Regions from separate parts of the Homo sapiens genome. Here region 1 is linked to region 2. The links are contacts of gene promoters, found by promoter capture Hi-C in human tissues and cell types (Jung and others, 2019). All regions are on one chromosome and are shown on one strand. Each heading gives the region's core, a stretch centred on a gene start or on the middle of the fragment in contact. The rest is flanking DNA. Distances are from core to core; before and after follow the strand shown.

The links. The method cuts DNA at HindIII sites, captures the fragments that hold promoters and counts their contacts. A contact is called where the count stands out against the background at its distance.
Region 1: a fragment that was not itself captured here is called in contact with the fragment with the promoter of FAR2 in region 2 in 1 of the 25 tissues and cell types used here (dorsolateral prefrontal cortex).

What each region holds. Positions count from the first base shown.
Region 1 is chr12:28,193,483-28,198,470 of GRCh38, reverse strand. The region is part of intron 1 of CCDC91 (coiled-coil domain containing 91); the gene reads right to left. Among named protein-coding and RNA genes, the nearest start is that of CCDC91, 5.5 kb to the right of the region's middle. The HindIII fragment of the contact is 6,310 bases long and covers 1-4,988 here.
Region 2 is chr12:29,147,391-29,152,269 of GRCh38, reverse strand. FAR2 (fatty acyl-CoA reductase 2) reads right to left here and starts at 2,992. Exons shown (of 12, transcript NM_001271783.2): 1 at 2,863-2,992. RefSeq lists silencers at 2,625-2,774, 3,085-3,144. The HindIII fragment of the contact is 14,796 bases long and covers 1-4,879 here.

The DNA of each region.
Region 1 (4,988 bases), core at 936-3,435, 950 kb after region 2:
TCTAACCTAATTTTAAGTTGTCTGTATAAAATTCGTAATTAAAATGATACTTAATCTCATCTTTAATCACTATCTTTTACTGATGTCTAAGCATGTAGTTTTTAAATAATATTCATATAAGCCCATCTGTCAGTGAAGCATATTCATAGATTAATGGATCTTGCATAACACTGCAGCACTGTCTTTACTACAATTGCAGAAGTTCTGAATTCTCATAATATAAAATGTAAGCAGCTTTTTAAAATGACTATGTAGACCTACTCTTTAACCACAGGGCTGAATATAATAAAAAACATAGGAGGTGGTAGACACAGAAAAGCCAACCTTCTCTGAATACAAGGAAAAAGTGATTTCATACTTCACAAACTAATTATTTCATTCACATAGTCCATGTTGAAATGTAAATACCAAAATGTACATATCCTTCTAAGGAAAACAAATTGTTTTACCAGAATTATAACAGAGCTCATTTTATAAAGTAATTAACATTATTTTTTATCTCCATTTATTAAACCTATAATTACAAAATTCTTCACATTTCAAAATAAATAAATTGTTGTATCCTCTACTAGTCACAGTAAATATGATCCTAATTATTTAAGTAAAATTGTATGGCATATAGCCAACAATAATCTTTACGCCACTTAGAAAATAAGAATAGACTTAAGAGGATATAAATTTGGACAAACATTTCAGAAGTACTGATAACATCTCATGCTAATTTGCTAATCTGCTTAGTAAATTTATTGTTAGCATTAAAATTAATATATTCAAAATAAACATAATATATACAAAATACCTAAAATAACATAATACTCATAGTATAGCCTACAAATAAAAGCACAGATTCAGGAAGACTTGTGAACAAACTCAAGCTCTACCACTTACTATTAATACAACCTTAGGTAAGTTTGCTCACTTGGAGACAGTTTCCTTTGTCTATGAAATGGAAAAAAATGTTACTACCAAAAAGTAGCAGTTGGAATTCAATAAAACAACATACATAAAGGGTTTTACATGAAGCTAGGCACAAAGATTTCTATAATTCTTATCAAAAGAAGAGCACAGGTGGTATATTACATTATACGTAATTCATCAGTAATTCTGTATAGATCAGTGGAAACAAAATAGTATAGGCAGAAAAGTTATTTAATGATTACAGACTCTAAACCGCTTAAAAAACGGTTTGAACTAGACCGATTTCTAAGGAACTCTGTTTCTGAAATTCAAAGATTCTACCTTAAGGTGATGCCCAAAAAGCCAATGATACTGACCCCAAATTTCTTACAATAAATAGCCTAAAGAACAAATTTCAAGAGCACCAAACAGAGGCAGTGGATATAAGAACCTGAAAAAAAAATGTATATACTTTGAGTGATAATCATATTTTTATAAATTACTTTGAAAAATTATCAGAGTTAAGCACAAATATTTAATGTTAATTTCAACAGGGAAAACTGAAATACAATTTTACTATTTAACAATAAGAAAATCATTAAATGATGGGCATATCCATATAACACAATAACCCATAACCATTACAAATCAAGTTTTCAAAATAATTCATGATGCAAGTACTCCCAATGTGATTCTGAGTGAAAAGGGCAAAATATAAAACAATATTAACAATTTTGTTTTTAAAATATATTTGCAAAAGAAAAGACTGAAAGAAAAGCCACCACAATGTTTGCAGCAGTTACCTCAGATTACTGAAAATAGGGTAACTTTTTTTATAGTCTTCCTTTATTTCCAACTTTCTACTGTAATCAACTATCATGTTCACAATCAAAAAAAGCAATATAACATTCACTTGTGATTAAATTTTAAAGCTCTAAGCAGGAGTTAAAGAGAACTTCCTTGGCTGGGTCAAAATGATATCCACAAAAAACTTACAGCTAACTACTCAATGGTAAAAGACTGTATACCTTCTCTACTAAGATGAAGAGCAATGCAAGGATATCTGTGCTGATCTGACTTGTTCTAGTTAACATTAGCAAAGGTCCTAGCCAGTGCAAAGAGACAAGAAAACAAAATAAAAGGCAAACAAATGAGAAAATGTGAAATAAAGCTGTCTCTACCAGCAGACAGCAGTAGCTACAAAAGCTACTAGAACGAACTCGTGAGTTTAACAAGGTTGTAAAATTCAAAAATTCAAGATCAATATTAAAATACTGATTCACTTACATAAGTAATTGGAAATTTAAAAATTTTTAAAGGTTACTGTTTACAACAGAACCAAACAACATAAAACATTTAGATACAAACATAACAAAATATGCGCAACATTTTTATGCGGAAAGCTTAAAAACAGAGAGAAATCAAAGACCAAATAAACGTAGAAAGGTTGTTTCATTTTGTTTTCTCTCTTGAAAGAGGCTCTCTCTGTTGCAGAGGCTAGAGTGCAGTGGCATGATCACAACTCACTGCAGCCTCTACCTCCCAGGCTCAATCAATCCTCCCACCTCAGCCTTCCAAGTATCAGGGACTACAGGTGCATGGCAACACACCCAGCTAATTTTTCTCATTTTTGTAGAGATGCGGTTTTGCCATGTTGTCCAAGCTGCTCTTGAACTCCTGGGCTCAAGCGATCCTCCCACCTTGACCTCCCAAAGTGCTGGGATTACAAGCATGAGCCATAGCAGTGGGACAGGAAAGGTATTTTATTAATGGATTAGAAAACAACATTTTTAAGATGTCAATTCTCCCCAAATGGATCCATAACTTCAATGCAATCATACTAAAAATTCCACAATGCTTTTATATAGAAATAAAGAGATTCTAAAATGTACATGGAAAGAAAAAGAACTCGAATACTCAAAAATTTTTGGCAAACAACAACAAAGTTGGAGGACTCAGGCTTTTTGACTTCAAGATACACTATAACGCTACCATAATAAGGACTGAGGTTTTAGCCAAACAGACGCACAGAACAATGGAACAAAATAGAGTCCACAAAGCAAACCACACAAACATACTCAACTGATTTTTAACAAGGCAAGCCAAAGAAATTTAATGAAGAAAAGATAGTAATGAGAGGTGAAGCCGGCTGGACTTCCGGGTCAGGTGGGGACTTGGAGAACTTTTCTATCTAGCTAAAGGATTGTAAATGCACCAATCAGAGTCTGTGTCTAGCTAACAGTTTGTAAACGCACCAATCAGCACTCTGTGTCTAGCTAATCGGGTAGGGGACTTGGAGAACTTTTCTGTGTAGCTAAAGGATTGTAAATGCACCAATCAGCGCTCTGTGTCTAGCTAAAGGTTTGTAAATGCACCAATCAACACTCTGGCAAAACGGACCAATCAGCACTCTGTAAAACGGACCAATCAGCACTCTGTAAAATGGACCAATCAGCTCTCTGTAAATGGACCAATCTGCAGGATGTGAGTGGGGCCAAATAAGGGAATAAAAGCAGGCCACCCGAGCCAGCAGCAGCAACCCCTTCGGGTCCCCTTCCATGCTGTGGAAGCTTTGTTCTTTCACTGTTCGCAATAAATCTTGCTGCTGCTCACTCTTTGGGTCCGCACTATCTTTATGAGCTGTAACACTCACAGTGAAGGTATGCAGCTTCACTCCTGAAGCCAGCGAGACCACGAACCCACCAGGAAGAACGAACAACTCCGGACACGCCACCTTTACGAGCTATAACAATGAGCTGCAACACCCACCACAAAGGTCTACAGCTTCACTCCTGAGGCCAGCGAGACCACAAACCCACTGGGAGGAACAAACAACTCAGGACACGCCACCTCTATGAGCTGTAACACTCACCGCAAAGGTCTGCAGCTTCACTCCTGAAGCCAGCAAGGCCACAAACCCACCAGGAGGAATGAACAATTTCGGATGCAGCTTCACTCCTGAAGCCAGCAAGGCCACAAACCCACCAGGAGGAATGAACAATTTCGGATGCGCCACCTTTAAGAGCTGTATCACTCACTGCAAAGGTCTGTGGCTTTGCTCCTGAAGTCGGCAAGACCATGGACCCACCAGAAGGAAGAAACTCCAGACACATCTGAACTTCTGGAGGAACAAACTCCGGACACACCATCTTCAAGAACTGTAACACTCACTGCGAGGGTCCGTGCCTTCATTCTTGAGGTCAGCAAGACCAAGAACCCACTGGAAGGAACCAATTCTGGACACAGTAAGAATAGTCTTTTTCAAGAGATGGTGCTGCAAGACTGGGGCATCCATACACACACACACAGAGAGAGAAAGAGAGAGAGAGAGTCTTGACCCCTACCTCACACTATATGCAAAAATTAACTCGAAATTGGTCACAGACCTAAATCTAAAATTTAAAGCTATAAAAGTTCTGGAAGAAAACATAAGAAAAAAAATCTTTGCAACGTTGGATTAGGCAAAATTTCTCATGATAAAAAAGCACAAATCATAAGAGAAAAAACTGATAAACTGGACTTCACCAAAATTTAAAACTTCTGCTCTTTGAAAGATACTGTTAAGAAAATGAAAGGACAAACTACAGACTCAGACTCGAAGGAAATGCTGTGAACATATATACGATAATGAATTTGTATCCAGACTGTATAAAACACTTGCAAACCAATAACAAACAACCCTATTAAAAACGAACAAACGATTTCAGCAGACACTTAATCAAAGAAGATACACAGATGGCAAATAATAGCACAGGAAAAGACGCTCAATATGTTAGAAGAAAAATTCAAATTAAAACATAAATGGGTTTTCACTAAACGCATATTAGAATAGCTAACATTAAAAATAAAATGACAAGTGCTGACCAGAATGTGGAGCAACTGGAACATCAAACATCACTTGCGGGAATGCAAAATGAAACAGCTACCTTGGAAAACAGTTTGGTAATTTCCTTCTTTTTTTTTTTTTTGTTTTTGAGACGGAGTTTCACTCTGTCACCAGTCTGGAGTGCAGTGGCACGATCTTAGCTCACTGTAACCTCCGACTCCCTGGTTCAAGCAGTTCTCCTGCCTCAGCCTCCTGAGTAGCTGGG
Region 2 (4,879 bases), core at 1,743-4,242:
CAGATTTTTTAAATTAAATGAAACAAAAAGGATTACCCCCTCAAAAAATTTCAGTCATTGGCTCATTTTCTCACCGTTCGACGTTTGGATGAATTAGACCCAAACATTAATTTAATTCAATAACTACCTTTGGGATCCAAGAAGTTATTCTGCACCTTTAGTTGAAAATTCTAATTTTGTCCAAATAATGATATTTCAGGAGTATTTAACACACTGAATACTTGCCTACTTTTTGTTTTATTTTCCACCAAACTATAAGGGTCAGAAAGGTTCTACAGTCTTTTCAGTGTGCTCAATCAACCTTCCTCAAGCTACTTCTGAAAAATGGAGGGCAAAGTTTAACCCTTCAACAACAGCATATTTTTTAGAAAAGAACTATTCAAAGCAAGTAGACATTTTTTACAATTATTACCTCTTTTTACTTAGAGATAGTACAACCTTGAAAATAAAGAAAGTAGAAGGTGTCATCTGTTGTCTTTATTTTGTCAATGAGGAAACTGAAATGTAGGAAGACTGAATGACATGTCCAAGAGCACCTAAGTGAGCAGCAGATAAATTTCAGGTTTGTACTGGAGAACTCACCGTAAATGTGGGATTGCTGTTCAAACACTGTTATTTGGTTAGTTTTAGACCAAGTTTGTCAGCCTGGGGTCAGGATATAATTTGTAGGACCCAGTTCAAAATGAAGATCCAGAGCCTCTTTGAAAATTATTAAGCCAGCAGACGGTGATAGCAGAACATTACCAAACGCAGGGCCCTTCCAAGTGCAAGGCCCTGTGCGGTTGCAGTTTTGTATTTCCATGAAGCTGGCCCTGCCTGGAGCCTCTGGACATCTAGAATGTAGGAGGCTGGGCATCAAGGAGGCCATGAACTCCTGAAATTGTAGGTGGAATTTTGTGTTAATATGTATGCATTTGTCTTTCATATTCCATAGCTTTCATCAGATTCTCAAATTGGTCTGTTACCCTCTTCAAAGGTAATACATGTTCCAACAGAGCCTACAATGTCAGAATATATTGGTAGGGACAAGCATGCTGGTGGTCACTGTGCATGATCCTTCACAAGGCTATATTTGTGAATAAGTAAGTTTTCATGAGTGCATGGGAATTAATGCAAAATCAAGGAATTCTTAACACTGATGAGACGTTGCCAGAAACAAATGCACTCAAGAATGCTTCTTCCTCAGGAGATAGGAAAGCAGATGGTGAGATGGTCAAGATGATCATATGCTTTATAAACCCCAAAGTGATACCCTAATATAAGCCATTTTATTTATTTTCAACCTCTCCCTCTTCCTCTGTAACTGGATGTCACATTTTAGCTTCCTTTAAGGAAAGCATATTTTCATTTACTTTAATTTCTCTAATAGCTGTATGATTTACCAACTCATGGTGATTTACATCTCTTTTATAGATAATTATAGCCCAATGTTAGAAATAGGAGTAAGTGAGGAATTTGTTAATACAGCAGGGGCAGAAGCAGCCCTCAGAATTAGGAAAAGAGTACTGTAAAGACGTGGATCCTGAGAAATACTACCGATGAAATATTGACACACGCGTCGGCCTGGTAAAAACCTCATGCCCATCTCCTAGAAGTCTCACACACAAATATCCCTTCTGCGGAAATGCCTGCTCTTGCAGTTTAGGTGGCTGCCTTAAGTTTTTATTTAGTCCCTTGCCCCCCTTTCTAAATTTTGGACTAACTACACCTGTCAGTCAAATCTCCAGCTCTTATAAATGGGAATATACAGAGATGGGTAATTGAAACCACGGGGTAATTCTCAAATTTCCATTTGCCCAGTGTCAAATTTCTCTCAACCTAGCAAACAGAAAAGCACGATCTACCTGAATTCCCTGGTCACTTTTCTGACCCTACTCTGTCCTTGCTCATCACATAATGGGGGCACTTTACGTGATTCAACGAGTGGCCAAACTCTTGCAGATCCAGCGATAACCTTGGTTGCTCACACCACATAACTCAACCGTGGAAGAAATGGTGCCACCGCTGGCAGGTGAGACGCCTTCCTCTGGTTTGTAGGATACGATTGGGCATGAATTGTTTTAATAGACTGAGACTGCCCCGCGGGTAATTCTACTTGCTAGGAGTGTTGAGCAGCCTTCCTGCAAGCCATCTACTCCAGTTGGGAGTCTGCTGGCACCTGCTCCCCTGCACACCCCCAGGATGCCCAGGCCGCAGGAAGATGTCTAAAACTTCCTACAGGGGCAAAGCCCGCCCTGGCCTCACCAGTCGCCCCAGCGCGCGTCAGCCACGACCCCGGCGAGGCCCAGGTGGGAGGGTAGGGACGTGCGCAGCCTGGGGTGGGGCTGGGGGCTGGCGAGGACCTGCTCCGGGGACCAGGACTGGGCGCCCTGGCGGTCCCAGGCACCGGGAGGGGACCTAGGACCGCTGCCGTTTCACACGTGGCCCCGGCATTTTCGCGCTCTCTCCAGGAATAGCCCCAAGGGCCCAGGAGGCCTGGGTGGGACTCGGCCCCGCGCCTCTCTTCCCGGGTCCCCAGTCCCCAAGGCGCGGCCCCCCACATTAACCTTGCTGGGTCCTTCCCGGCTTTCTGCCCTTTGCAACCCCCGCGCGCCCCACCTTGGCGGGCTCCGCCGACGCCAACCGCGCGTAAACGGCCGGTGACGATTGGGGTGCAGCCGGGGGCAGCTTCAGGGGGCAGAGCCTCCGCAAATGCTTCTCTCCTCCCACCCGGCCTCACACCCACCCTCCTCGAGGTCCCGCCGGGAACCGCCCCGCCCTGCGAACCCAGCCGAGCCCTCCCTCCTGGGCCACCCCCAGTCCGGTCTCTGCTTTTGGAGCGCGTGGGCTCTGCGAGCGCCAGGGCTGGGGACCCTGGAATACCTGTTCCTCCAGCACGAGGATGGGGTCCAACTAGTGGTCCTCTAAATCCTGCTCCTTCCCCGAGGCTACGGGAAGCGCTCCAGCCACAAGGAAACGGCTCCAGTCTTTCGGCTCCCAAACGTGACACTCTATATATCCGGCTCGGAGACTGGGTGTGGGGCGGGAGGAAACCACCCTCCCTCCGACCTTCCCCGGCTCCGCCGCTGCCTCGGCACTGGGCGCGAAACCGGCGGCAGCCTCAGCCCGGGGCGGGAGGAGGGTGAGGGGCCAGCGAAGGCCCTACAGGTCGCGGGGGCGACAGCATCGTGGGCAGGGCGGCCGCGCGCGCAGGCCCGCCCCGCGCTTCCATTCGTTCAGCACCAGCGGATCCACTGGCTATGACTCCCGCATTTGTGTGGTTTGGGGGAGGGGAGTTGGTTTTGGTTTCGGTGGGTTTGGTTTGTTTGTTTGTTTGGGGCTTTTGTTTTGTTTTGTTTTGGGTTTTGGGGTTGGTTTTTTTCTCCATTTTTTAATCAGTGGGCGAGGGGACAAGGAAGCTAGAAAGGCGCCCCTCTCTGGTGTGGGAAAGGAGAACTCCCACACCGTGAAAGGTGGCGGGGTAGGGGGGTGGAGGGAGAGACCGAGACAGGAGAGAGATTCAAAGGTTCTAGTCTGAACTGAACGCTTGGGGGACATACCTTTCCCCACCCACCCTAGCAGAAAAGGCAGCCAAAAATCCCAGTTTACTCAGCTTGACTACACTGCACATCCCGTGGGAGGGATGCTCTTGTATCTGCTAAAGACATTGCGGAGGCGCCCTGCAGTGACCCACGAACGCAGTGGCTTTTTAAAACCCAAGGGCGTGAGGGTGGAGGGTGATGCGAGGACTTCAGGTGAGGCTTCCTCACACTCGGGGTTTGAAGGGCAGAAATCCGGCTCTGCCTGCCTATGGTGGGGTGGGGGTGGGTAGGAGACTAGAAAGGATCAGAGATGGGGGCCGCAGAAACAGCAGTGAGCCAGCTGTGCTCAGCAGCACTTCTCCGGACTTAAAAGAAAAAAAGATGTTTCATTTCTTAGCCTGGTAGCTTTTTTGGGATTTGGTCATTGTTAAATTTTAAACGGAAAAACAAGCTGCCAGGGAAGCCTTGTAGAGGGATGGACAGGCACGTGAGTGGAGCCCTTGGCCTCAACCAGGAAGTGCTGAAAAACGGCCAACGCCCATCCTAATTCCCTGGACAATGTAGGAGGTAAATTTCCAAATAAATATGGTGTGTTAAGAAAAATAGAAAAGAAATATTGTCCTATAAGCTGTTCTGATTCTCCTCATTATAACAATCCACATGCAATTAAAGAAATAAAATTTGACTTTTGAAAGTTAGAATTAAGGAGTGATTTCATGAAATTAAAATAATAACACCCATCTTGAATTCTCTACTACTGGGCTCTTTAATGAAATGTGTTAAGCTAAGTGTAGCCTAAAGGCACTGACTAATTTCCTCTGGTGACCGCCTGAATGCAAGAGACAGAAAAAAAGTTACAACCAAATTTATAGTATTTTTCGTTACCCCTCCCCTCCTCAAGAATAAATTTGAATGTATCTTCAAAATGTGTGTGACAGCACTTCAAATGATAATGTCAAATGCTGGTGAAAACGTATAGAAATCACTTAACAGATAGCAGATGGAAGGTAAATTGTAATCACGCTTTTGTTGGAAAGCAATTTAGCAACACATTCCCAAGGTGTTCAGTAACGAAATTTTTTCTTGTTCTGGACCTAGATTCCCATGTCTTACAATGTATTCAAAGGAGATAATCCATAAAAGAGAAATGCCGCATGTACATAGTTGCATATTTATTACCGAGTTGTTTATAAAGTAGGAAATTAAAAGCATACTTTCAGTGGGATGTTCATAGATAAAATACAACATTAATTATAGATTACAAAACCACAATTTGATTATCACCATTTAAAACGCTATTCATATATGTAGAATGTATTAGTTTGCTAAGGCTGTCATAAGGATGCACATAAACTGGG